4 separate regions of the Homo sapiens genome follow, and regions 1, 2 and 3 are each linked to region 4. Evidence: promoter capture Hi-C in 16 types of primary human blood cells and fetal thymus (Javierre and others, 2016). All regions are on one chromosome and are shown on one strand. Each heading gives the region's core, a stretch centred on a gene start or on the middle of the fragment in contact. The rest is flanking DNA. Distances are from core to core; before and after follow the strand shown. Region 1 overlaps BNIP3 (BCL2 interacting protein 3). Region 2 overlaps ECHS1 (enoyl-CoA hydratase, short chain 1). Region 3 overlaps PAOX (polyamine oxidase). Region 4 holds the start of INPP5A (inositol polyphosphate-5-phosphatase A).

What was found. Contacts are between HindIII fragments. The CHiCAGO score rates a contact against its expected background, and 5 or more counts as called.
Region 1: a contact is called between a fragment that was not itself captured here and the fragment with the promoter of INPP5A in region 4, in 4 of 17 cell types (total CD4 T cells, activated CD4 T cells, non-activated CD4 T cells and 1 more). The highest score is 6.6, in total CD4 T cells.
Region 2: a fragment that was not itself captured here is called in contact with the fragment with the promoter of INPP5A in region 4 in 1 of 17 cell types (neutrophils); the score reaches 5.2 in neutrophils.
Region 3: a fragment that was not itself captured here is called in contact with the fragment with the promoter of INPP5A in region 4 in 7 of 17 cell types (fetal thymus, naive CD8 T cells, total CD8 T cells and 4 more); the score reaches 7.9 in fetal thymus.

The regions. Positions count from the first base shown.
Region 1 is chr10:131,975,272-131,978,083 of GRCh38, forward strand. All of the region lies in intron 1 of BNIP3 (BCL2 interacting protein 3), which reads right to left. Among named protein-coding and RNA genes, the nearest start is that of BNIP3, 5.2 kb to the right of the region's middle. The HindIII fragment of the contact is 4,564 bases long and covers 1-2,812 here.
Region 2 is chr10:133,361,469-133,364,248 of GRCh38, forward strand. ECHS1 (enoyl-CoA hydratase, short chain 1) reads right to left here. Exons shown (of 8, transcript NM_004092.4): 8 at 1,017-1,465. The coding sequence ends at 1,400. Among named protein-coding and RNA genes, the nearest start is that of FUOM, 4.8 kb to the left of the region's middle. The HindIII fragment of the contact is 2,031 bases long and covers 369-2,399 here.
Region 3 is chr10:133,387,311-133,390,233 of GRCh38, forward strand. PAOX (polyamine oxidase) reads left to right here. Exons shown (of 7, transcript NM_152911.4): 5 at 1,646-1,758; 6 at 2,280-2,437. Among named protein-coding and RNA genes, the nearest start is that of MTG1, 5.4 kb to the right of the region's middle. RefSeq lists silencers at 1,201-1,358, 1,615-1,909, 2,499-2,578 and an enhancer at 1,319-1,448. The HindIII fragment of the contact is 2,734 bases long and covers 124-2,857 here.
Region 4 is chr10:132,536,432-132,539,224 of GRCh38, forward strand. It overlaps INPP5A (inositol polyphosphate-5-phosphatase A), which reads left to right and starts at 1,356. Exons shown (of 16, transcript NM_005539.5): 1 at 1,356-1,740. The coding sequence starts at 1,666. It overlaps LOC107984282 (a long non-coding RNA gene), which reads right to left and starts at 492. Exons shown (of 4, transcript NR_158224.1): 1 at 295-492. RefSeq lists a silencer at 377-1,476 and an enhancer at 2,257-2,306. The HindIII fragment of the contact is 3,408 bases long and covers 318-2,793 here.

The DNA.
Region 1 (2,812 bases), core at 108-2,607, 560 kb before region 4:
CACGTCTATTTCTGGGCCCCAGATAATCTCTCTACTTTGTGTCATAGGTTTATTTATTTAAAGCAAATCTGGTAGGAGCTTCCTCTGGTAGCGTATGGAGGATGGAGTGCAGTGGGAGGAAAGTGCAGGCCACAAAAGACAGGGAAACTTATGGACGAGAACAATGGAATTATCTCATTTTTGCAGTCACTATAATTTTAGTAAGCAGAATAATCACCCTGAGCTGCTGACTGTCCTTAAACCAACACAGCACTAATAACACCATGCAATTAGGGGGAAAGGAGCAGCCTCTTCATCCGTCATGTTCGCTGGAAGCAAAGGCAGGTGCACAGCTTTCCACACACACGAGGCATCTCTCCTGAAAGAGGGCTGGCCTAGGCTCCATACGCCACTTGTTGCAGAGTCTATTTCATATTAACCAGAAAAAAGCAAACCGAAGGCCCAGGAAGGAAAAGTGGATTTGCAACTTATGCCATCAACAGTCTCCCAGTAAGCTGCTAACGAAATGATCACACAAATTTTCAAATGAACGCATGATTGTTCTCTTTGGCCTCTCACGTTGCCTCATGTCCTGGCCTACACGAAGCACATCCCTAATACAAAGGCAAGCCAGGGTCTGTCTCGGAGCCTGGAGCTCAATGGAGGAGAAAGGCCCAGGCCAGTCTGCCCCACACTCTGGCAGAGGCTACATGGTGCCTTCTGAGATGTACAGACCACACCATTCCTGAAGCCGCTCATCTGACCAGACAGTATTGCCAAGTACTCTGATGTTCACTAGCCCTCCTTCCCTCTCTGCGGTTCAAGATGCCATGCGGCCGGCTAGCCATGGCCTGCCCCTGAGAGAACGGCACCACAGCCTCTGTTTTGGCCAGCTGTCTTTCTCCGCTGAATCTACAGTATTCAGATTCTGGGCCTGCTTCAATTTACTTGACTAAAGTGTTGTTCAGCTATCTGACGATATGGAACACAAATGCAACTTGAAGGTGTGGTGTCTCTTCTCTGATGCCACTCTTAACATCAAATGTGGGACACCAAGTCACCACCACCGGGGTGTCCAACGATTCAATTCCATTCTATCTACCTAGACTTAGTGTGGAGCCCACAAGACTGTTCCCACAGATGCAAGCAGAGAATGGGGTGTCCAGGTTACCCGTATTTCTGCCAGTGCCTCTACCTACTCAGGGGATCCCACACACCTGCCTCAGGTTCAGTAATTTACTACAATTCACAGAACTCAGAAAAACTCTTTACTTACATTTATCAGTTTACCAGAAACAATTCCAGGGCAGACAAATGGAAATGACATACAGCCCAGATCCCCACCTACCCCACACGTCCCAACCCTAACCCCAACCACACTCTCTGCAACCAGACTCCCACTTACCCCACATGTCCCAACCCTAACCCCAACCATGCTACCCGCACCTCATGGCTCCCCCATCTCCATCTCCAGTCCCCTCCCCTCCTAGGAGGGGCTGCCCTGGGAATTTCTACCTCAAGTAACTATCCTGGGGCCACCCTTGAGCCACTGTATTAGCAGTGTATTCTGAAGGGGCTCCTTACAACTTACACCAAAAATGGTTAACCAAGGAGCACTTTTGGAGTACACTGCTAATAGGGTGACTTTATGAATAACGCACACACTGGTCAGGTTGTTCTGCCTATGGAGTCACCATCTTTTTACTGTTTTACTTTCTTTAATAAACATGCTTAAGACACTTATTGGCACAGCGGTTCATGCCTGTAATCCCAGCACTTTGGGAGGCCGAGGCGGGCAGATCATCTGAGGTCAGGAGTCAGAGACCAGCCTGACCAACATGGTGAAACCCCGTCTCTACTAAAAATACAAAATTAGCTGGGCGTGGTGGGCGCCTGTAATCCCAGCTACTCGGGAAGCTGAGGCAGAAGAATCCCTTGAACCTGAGAGGGGGAGGTTGCAGTGAGCCGAGATCATGCCACTGCCCCCCAGCCTGGGCAACAATAGCGAAACTCTGTGTCTCAAACAAAAAAAAAAGACACTGCTCAGGAAGCCCCAGGGGTTTAGGTGCTCTGCACCAGGAAGTAGGTAGGGTCAAGACCAAACACATACTGTAATCTATCACACAAGGGGCAGGCTGAAGACAACAGGGAGAGGAAGATGAAGGAGAGACAAGTGTATCTCTGTCATCCTCTGCGCTACTGCAACAGAATCCCACAGACTTAGTGATTTACGAACAGAAACTGATCTCTGTTCTGGAGGCTGGGAAGTCCAAGATCCACGCACCAACATCTGGTGTCGGCTGAGGGCCTTCCTGCCTCATCCCTTCAATGAGGCTACAGAGGGACCCACCTCCCTCCATCCAGCCCCTTAGAGCACTAATCCCATTCACTAGAGAGGAGCCCCTATGGCCGAGCCACCTCTTAAAGGCCCACCTTTTACTACCATCCCACTGGCAACATGGAGGAACACATTCGAACCAAAGCAGTGCTTTTTAAACATCACCCCAGAAAGGACCTAAAAATCCAGGAAACAAGGAAAAAAAACTCACTCCAGATTGTCCATGGCTAATGACTTTGGGCCCAAAAGCTGTATTCCCAGGAATGATTTACTAAGGGACAGGAGTTTTATTATTAACCCACAGCAACCGCGTAGGAAAGGAAGGCACTTCCTGGAGAATGGAGCGTGCTGTGTATCTACTCACGTGTTACAGTTCTCCACTCGGATCGTTCACCTTTTCAAAGAAAGATGGGCTTACAGTAAGGTTGCTTAATAACCTTAGAAAACTTGCTCATAATCACAAGCAGTTTACACTTCAAATCACTGTAGTATAAT
Region 2 (2,780 bases), core at 134-2,633, 830 kb after region 4:
AATCCCACTTGAAGAGCTCTGCCCTCATAGGGCACTAATCCCACTGGAGGAGCTCCGCCCCCTCATAGGGCACTAATCCCACTGGAGGAGCTCCACCCTCTCTCTCCTAGGACACTAAACCCACTCGAAGAGCTCTGCCCTTGTGACTAGTCATTGCCCAAAGTCCCCCCTCCTAATGCAGTCACGGTAGGGGTTAGGATTTCAACCCAGGGATTTGGGGTGGGGCTGAGTGAAATGAGCCTGACCCAAAGGGATAAATGGAGGTCCCTCCATAGAGACAGGAAGTAGAAGCGTGGGTGCCAGGAGCTGGAGGGAAGCAGAAAAGGGGTTGTTGTTTAACGGGGACAGTTTCCGTTTGGGAAAATGAAAGCTTTCTTGGATAGTCATGGCTGCACAACGAGAACGTACTTAATGCCGCTGAAATGTGCATTTGAAATGGTTCAGACCAGCCTGGGCAACACGGGGAAACCCCGTCTCTACAAAAGGTAAATTTAAACAGTCAGCTGGGTGTGGGAGTGCGCCCCTGTGGTCCCAGCTACTTGGGAGGGGGGGAGGATCACTTGAGCCCAGGAGATTCAAGCTGCAGTGAGCTGTGACTGAGCCACGCACTCCAGCCCGTCTCTAAAACACAGTGGTTAAGATGATCAAGTTGACGTCGTGTGTTCCCACAGTAGAGAAGAATGCAGTAAACTGAACAGAGAGCTCCTTATGACAGAAGTAGGAAGAAAATAGGGTGGGCTCTCGTGAGGAAAGGGCTCGACGTGAGTGGGCGTGGAAGAAAACCATAGACCATGCCTGTGCCCGTGTGCAGGGGTGTGTGGGTGCGTGCACAGAACTCTAGGAAGTCACAAGCCCAGCTGTTCACAGTGGCTACCCTGGAAGTATGATGTGAGGCAACTGACTATACAAACTTGTTTTGTTTGAATGTTGTTCCTTACAGTGAAAAAACAAAAAAGTTTAAAAAAACAACTAACATGACAGAATGCTCATTGCAGACATGACTACAAGGCGTGGTGTAATCTGAATCGCTATCACTTTAATCAGCATCTGTATGAAGGCAGCAGACAGCGTTTCCCTCAGAGCAGCCCCATTCTTCAGCGGCAGGGACACAAGGACCCGCAGGCCCCGCTTTCCGTCCGAGCACAGCATGCCCAGAGGGACCAGCGGGGGCTCCTCAGCAGAATCTTAGATTTAGAAGGTGCTCCAGTCAGGACCCTCACAGGCTGGGTGACGAAGGCTGTCATGCCGTGAGAGGTCGGGCCACGACCACGCAGCAATTGGAGAGGAACTGCACACCACGGACACTGCTCTTGAAAAGAGGATGATTTACTTGCTTCTAAAACTGACAGGCTGCACTTGTCCTCTCCAAGCAGAGGTGTGAAGCAGGGGCAGCTGGTTCTCACTGGTCTTTGAAGTTGGCCTTTCTCTTTTCCACAAACGCGGTCATCCCTTCTTTCCGGTCATCCTGGCAGGAAAAGGAACAGAAACAGAGCTGGACGCGCAGTATCCTCACAGAGCCTGATGCCAATGTCCGCCCGTCTCTCCCTGGCTCTGCCTCACTCATGCTCACAGGGGCCCAGGGGGCCGGGGAGGGGACTCAGCGGCAGGAACACCTGCCCAATCAGAGCTGGGCCTGGGCGCGGGGATTTTCACGGCCTCTCTCTACCAGTCTAGGTGACGGTCATTCAGGAGCCACTGTGTATGTCCAACAAGCTCACATCTAAAGAGCCTCAGATGCACCCATCTTGGTCACTCACCATGTCATCAACTGGATGATGGGTGGCCTGTATCAGGGGCTACTCTGTGTTGGAGTAGGACGTGAGAACTCAACTCTGCATCTGCTTTTCTTACACTGTGTGCACGTGTGTCCCCAGGTGTGCGCGCGCGCACACACACACACACACACACACACACACGCATCTGTACCCCTTCCTCAGGTGCCCAAACCACTTTTAATTTTTATTTTATAGAACAATTAAAACACCGAAGTATGACTTTCTCCCAGTGAAAGACATGAATTAAAATGGTAATCTGGCCGGGTGCAGTGGCTCACGCCTATAATCCCAGCACTGTGGGAGGCCGAGGCAGGCAGATCACTTGAGGTCAGGAGTTCAAGACCAGCCTGGCCAACATGGTGAAACTCTGTCTCTACTAAAAATACAAAAATTAGCCAGGTGTGGTGGTGGGCACCTGTAATCCCAGCTACTCGGGAGGCTGAAGCAGGAGAATCACTTGAACCCAGGAGGTGGAGGTTGCAGTGAGCTGAGATCTCACCACTGCATTCCAGCCTGGACGACCGAGCAAGACTCTGCCTCAAAGGGAAGAAAATTAAAATTATGATGGTAATTAGAGGAATTACTTTAAGTTACTGGCAGAAATCTTATAAAATATTGCTCTAAAGCTTCAGCTTATCTTATTAGAATACATTTGAGCCTATTCCAAATAATTGGAATGATCTAAAAAAACATGGGTAAAATGAGTTACATTTTTTTTTTCAGACAGAGTCTCACTCTGTCTCCCAGGCTGGAGTGCAGTGGCGTGATCTCGGCTCACTGTAATCTCCGCCTCTGGGTTCAAGCGATTCTCCTGCCTCAACTTCCAGAGTAGCTGGGATTACAGGCACCTGCCACCACGCCCGGCTAATTTTTTGGATTTTTAGTAGAGACGGGTTTCGTCATGTTGCCCAGGCTGGTTTCAAACTCCTGAGCTCAGGCAATCCACCCGCCTCAGCCTCCCAAAGTGCTGGGATTACAGGGTGAGCCACCGCGCCCGGCCTCATT
Region 3 (2,923 bases), core at 241-2,740, 850 kb after region 4:
TAGTCTTCCAAATGTTGATACATTTCATTATACAATATAAAAAATCAAATTTATTAACATACCACTGATCTCAGAAAAGTCTTTCAGGATTGGGAAGCTGTTATGCTGTTGGTGGCAGAAACAAGCTTTTCTAAAATTGCAGTTTTTGCTTGAGAGCTTAAACTTTGTCATTGTCTATAAATACTATTTGTTAGTTGTTTTCCTGTGATAGAGACACTTTGCTCATTTTCAAGAAAATGTCACCAAATACCACACCATGATTTGTCTGACTGGTGCTCTCCTGAGTTCTGAGCCTGTCTGTGAAAGACGCACCAGCCCCGCCTGGAATAGCGTGTGCTAGGTGAGTCCTCCACGGCCACCGTGCACCACGCGCAGCAGGAGTGTTCTATGCGGATCCCGCTTCTCCACGCAGATTATTATTATTTTTTGAGATGGAGTCTTACTCTGTCGCCCAGGCTGGAGAGCAGTGGCGCGATCTTGGCTCACCGCAACCTCCACCTCCCGGGTTCATGCCATTCTCCTGCCTCAACCTGCCGAGTAGCTGGGACTACAGGTGCCCGCCACCACGCCTGGCTAATTTTTGTATTTTTATTAGACAGGGCTTTACCATATTGACCAGGCTGGTCTCGAACTCCTGACCTCGTGATCCGCCCGCCTTGGCCTCCCAAAGTGCTGGGATTACAGGCCTGAGCCACTGTGCCTGGCCCTCCACGCAGATTATTAAAAAGACATGAACTCGAGGATCAAGATTTAATAAAATTAGTAACTTTTACTGCCTTTGATCAAGGACATTCTCAAGTGAAAGCAGCATTTTTATTTATTTTTTAATATATATATTTTAATTTTTATATTCAGAGGCAGGGATATACGTGCAGGTTTGTTATGTAGCTAACCGTGTATCATGGGGGCTTGTTGTACAGATTAGTTCTATCACCCAGGAATTAAACCTAGTACCCATTAGTTATTTTTCCTGCTCCTCTCCCTCCTCCCATCCTCCACTCTCCCATAGGCCCCAGTGTGTGTTCTCATCATTTAGCTCCCACTTGAAAGGGAAAACATGTGCTGTCTGCTTTTCTGTTCCTGTGTTAGTTTGCTAAGGATAATGGCCTCCAGCTCCATCCATGTCCCTGCAAAGGACATGATCTCGTTCTTTGACGGCTGCAAAAAGCAGCATTTTGTAACCCTCATGTGCAGTGGTGGGAACGCCTGTAGGCGCATGTGGATCCTGTTGCTGCCTGATTCTGCTAAGGGACGGTTTACCTGCCCTGGCTCTTGCTCAGGTGCAAATGTCGGCGTGGTGGAAACAGCAAATGCTGTCTTAGCGTCTGAAGATGGCTGTGACCTTGAGGGTCCCTGGCAGGGCCTTCGGACCCCCAGGACTTTGCCGCCCACACTCTGCGAACTGCTGCCTGAGGGACGCTCTGTGGGGTGGCTCTTTGTGCCTCTGGGGCCCCTGCTCCATCAGTGGTTCCTTGCTGAGAAACGCGGGCGGAGAGCTGGGCTGGACACTGTCATCCCGGGGCTCTCTTTCTCCATGCAGGTCTGGTCATCCCAGGGCTCTCTTTCTCCATGCAGGTCTGGTCATCCCAGGGCTCTCTTTCTCCATGCAGGTCTGGTCATCCCAGGGCTCTCTTTCTCCATGCAGGTCTGTCCACGTTCTCTGTGGGTTCATTGCCGGACTTGAGTCTGAGTTCATGGAGACTCTGTCGGATGAAGAAGTACTTCTGTGTCTCACCCAAGTGCTCCGGAGAGTGACAGGTAGGTACTCACCACACACGCTGGTTCCTGCCTCTGCTCGTTACTGGTTGATCTCTAAACAGAAACTAGACTTTGCAGAACAGAGAAAAACTAAATTTGGCTGACTCTGTACATCTCCAGGGACCATCCTTCCTCATGTTAGTGGGGTCAGTAACAGTTCTTACCTCCGAGGAACTGAAATGACTTTGCAAACACTTCCTACTTCTGCCACCAAAATAAATGCCGTTGTCCTTGATCAGATTTTTACAGAGGAGGAACCCAAGGCTCGGAAACAGTAGCTGCTGCTGTCACAGCTCCCGGGTCCCGGCCCGCTGCTGTCGGGTCAGAGGCCCCCGGGTCCCAGCCCACTGCTCTCGGGTCAGAGGCGGCAGGAAGAGCCTCTCCTGACACACTCTGCTGCTCACTTTTCTTCCTGCATAGCATCTTTCACGTTAAACTGCTCAATCTTTAAAAATGACAAAAACAGTTGCAGACCTGTGGGTGAGAGTTCTCGGTTAACATGCAGTGTCTCTGTGGCTCAGGAAACCCACGGCTCCCCGCGCCCAAGAGCGTCCTGCGGTCTCGCTGGCACAGCGCCCCGTACACTAGGGGGTCCTACAGCTACGTGGCCGTGGGCAGTACTGGGGGCGACCTGGACCTGCTGGCTCAGCCCCTCCCTGCAGACGGCGCCGGCGCCCAGGTATGTGGCGTGCCCCAGTCGGGGGGCGTGGGTCCCGCTGCAGAGGCCCCCGCCGAGTCTGGGCGCTGCAGGAGCACCAGCCAGTGGCGGGTGGGCTGGGATCCCAGACTCGGAAGCCATTTTCTTTTTGAAACTAAGAATAATTTTTAAATGTACTGTTTTTGTGAGAATTATACACACACAGCTTAAAAAGTCAGAGAATTCTGCAGTGCTAACAAAAGAAAATAAAACCAAAATGGCAGGTGGAGCCCCTTTTGCCCTTCTCAGACGGTGCTCCCAGCTGATTCTCATCGCTAAGTTTACTGCATCTCTAAAAACATGTTTCTGCTACCACGTTTTGAGATACATTTCCTGTGCAAAATGTCAAACATACTAAAGTAGGGAGAACCTTTCAGTGCCCACCAGGCTTCCCCTAAGCCAAGCTTCTCCCCGCCCACCCCCGCCCTTTTTTATTAAGCATGACTCACACAGGACATTGTCTCACCT
Region 4 (2,793 bases), core at 106-2,605:
CTCAGAAGCTGGAGGCTAGCCTCGCTAGAGCCCATTGCCAGGCCCTGACCGCCCCTAAATCTGTGTCCACAAAATCCTCCGGAGTGCCTGCTCCGCATGGTGGCCACTGGCCACACAGGGCTGCTGAGCACTGGAAGCGGCCTTGTGAGCTGCTGCCAAGAGGCAGGTGCCCGTGCAAAGCCTTCCTGTGAAGGAATCTCACTGAGGTTGTTAAATTCTGGTTACATGTTGAATGATGTATCTATCTATTGGGTTAAGTAAAACGTATTGTTAACTTTGGCTATTACTTGTTACCTTTAAAAAATGTAGCTACTGGAAGCTTTAAGATGACAAATGTGGTTCTCCTCCTCCATCTACAGGCATGTCCCGGTTCACGGCGGCTGTGTCCCCGCGGCCTCAGACCCAGGGTCCAGCCCATGCTCTGGCCCCTCCGGCGGCCAGGATCAGCATCGCTGCCCCGGGGCCCGCGCCGAGCCGGCTGCTCCTCCGTGCTCTGCGCTCCTGGGCCCGCACCAGCCCCCTCCCCTGGAGCCCCCTTCGTCCCTGCGAGGGTTCCCTGCACGCCCCGCGCTGAGACCCAGCCTGGCCCGGGCCGGAGCCCTCCGCGACGTCAGGATGCGCCTGGCCTCACGCCGCCTCCCCTCCGTCTTCTCTGGGCCGCAGCCGCTCCTCGTGAGTGAGGTCGCGGCCAGGGAGCCGGGTGGACGCGCCGGGAAGCTGCACGGTCCACGCTCCGTCTGCGCGGAGAGCCGGGCGCGCGTGGCCCGGCCCCTGCAGGCGCGACTGCCGCCGCCCCGGTGGGCTCCCCTCCCCCGCACGCCCGGCACGCGGCTGGACGACTGCGGCCGCGCGGGGGCTGGAACATCCCCTCAGAGCCGCAAGAGAGCGCACCCGCCGCCGGCGCCCGGAACCCAGGGCCCCTTTAAGAGGCGCCGCCGGAGCAGGGCCGTGACGTCATAGAAGTGCGAAGGGCGGAGTCTGTGCGCAGCCGCGGCGCGGGGGGCGGGGCGGGGGCGCGGCGTTCTTGCGGGCCTGACTGACAGGAGCGCCCTCCGGGAGCGACCAGTACTAGGCCGCCGGTCGCAAGAGCGCCCCGCGTAGGCCCCGCCCCGAAAGGAGGCCCCGCCCCGGGGCAGGCCCCGCCTCCACAAGGACACCAAGTCCCGCACAAGCCACGCCCCCCGCAGGCCCCGCCCCACTCTGTTCAGATCTAGGCCCAACTCAGGCTCCGCACCTCAAGGCTCCGCCCCCAGCAAGGCTCCGCCCCAGGCCCGGCTCCACCCCGCACAGGCCCCACCCCGAGTCAGGCTCCGCCCCGCCCAGGCCCCGCCCCGGGCTCGGCTCCGCGGGGCGGGACTTGCCCTCAGCCTGAGTCGGCGGCGGCTGCGGGAACTTTCCCAGCGGATCTAATGGCTGCGCGCGGGCCGCTGTGAGGCGCGGCGGCGAGCGACGGGCGCGGGGCCGCGGAGCAGCGAGCGAGCGAGCGAGCGCGAGGCCGGAGCCCCGGCCAGGCCCGGCCGACCCGCCGAGCCCGCGATGCGCCCCGGGGCCGCCCCCCGGCGCAGCTGACGCCCCGCGGCCCCGCGAAGACCCCGGCCGGCCGGTCCCGGAGGAAGCGGCCGCCGCCGCCGCCGCCCAGCCCAGCGCCCGCGCCGCCCGGGCACCATGGCGGGGAAGGCGGCCGCCCCGGGCACCGCGGTGCTGCTGGTCACGGCCAACGTGGGCTCGCTCTTCGACGACGTAAGTCCCCCGTGCCGGCGGCAGGCCCCAAGCCCGGAACCCCCGACCCTGACCCCGGGGTCCCGAACTGCAAGCCTTGGACCCTGGACCGTGAACCTCCAGACCCAGAGGCCCCAGACTCTGATCCCTGTACCCGGGACCCCAGACTCCTGTCCTGATTCCCAAGTCTGGGAGCCCAGACCCCTGTCTTGATCCCCAAGCCCGAGACCTGAAGACCTGGGCCCTGAATCCCCGAACCCCATCCTCCAGACTCCAGCAGCTGACCGTTGACCCTGGGACCCTGCCTCTGAACTCCTGTCTGCAAATCCTGACCTCGAAACTCCAATATTAAAACCCTGTCAGAACCCCTGTTAACAGTTCCTGGAACCCAAACCCCAGAAACCGGGTCTGTGCGCACCAAACCCAGCCCCAGCCCTGATTTCCGAATCCTCAGAACCCTGGCCCTGGAATGCCCATCCCCAACCCTGGCCCTGAACCCCAGGTCCATGGTCACTGGAACCACAAATCCTGACTGCAGAACTCTGGTTACAGAACCTGCTCTCAAACGTCTGTCTCTGGTCCCTGAGCCCTGGACCCCAAACCCTGAAACATAACCACAAACCCTAACCCAGGAACTTCTGACACAGGGCTGTGGCCCCAACCTCCTGTCCCTGTTCCCCAATCACTGAATTCTAGCCCTAGAATCCCAGCCTTCATACTGTGGCCCTTTGCCTCTAAAGCCAATCTAGCCTGACTCTGAACCCTGAATTTCAACCTCAGGCCCCAGCTTATGGCCCTGAACACTTGTCCTTGACCCCTGAACCTGGAACCCTGGTTCCAGAATCAGGCCCCAAACCCAATTCTGGACCCTGCCCCTAACTCTGGTTCCTAGATCCCATCCTTGGCCCCTTCCTCCAACAAGCTCCTGCCCCTGAATCCTGAATCCTGAATCCTGGTCTTAAAGCCTGGGCCTTGAGCCTGCAGAATTCCCAAACCCTAACCCTTGACTCCCACCCCTGGCCCCTGTCCTCTGAGCCTAGGCCCTCCACTCTGGCTGTCAGCCCCAGCTCCTGG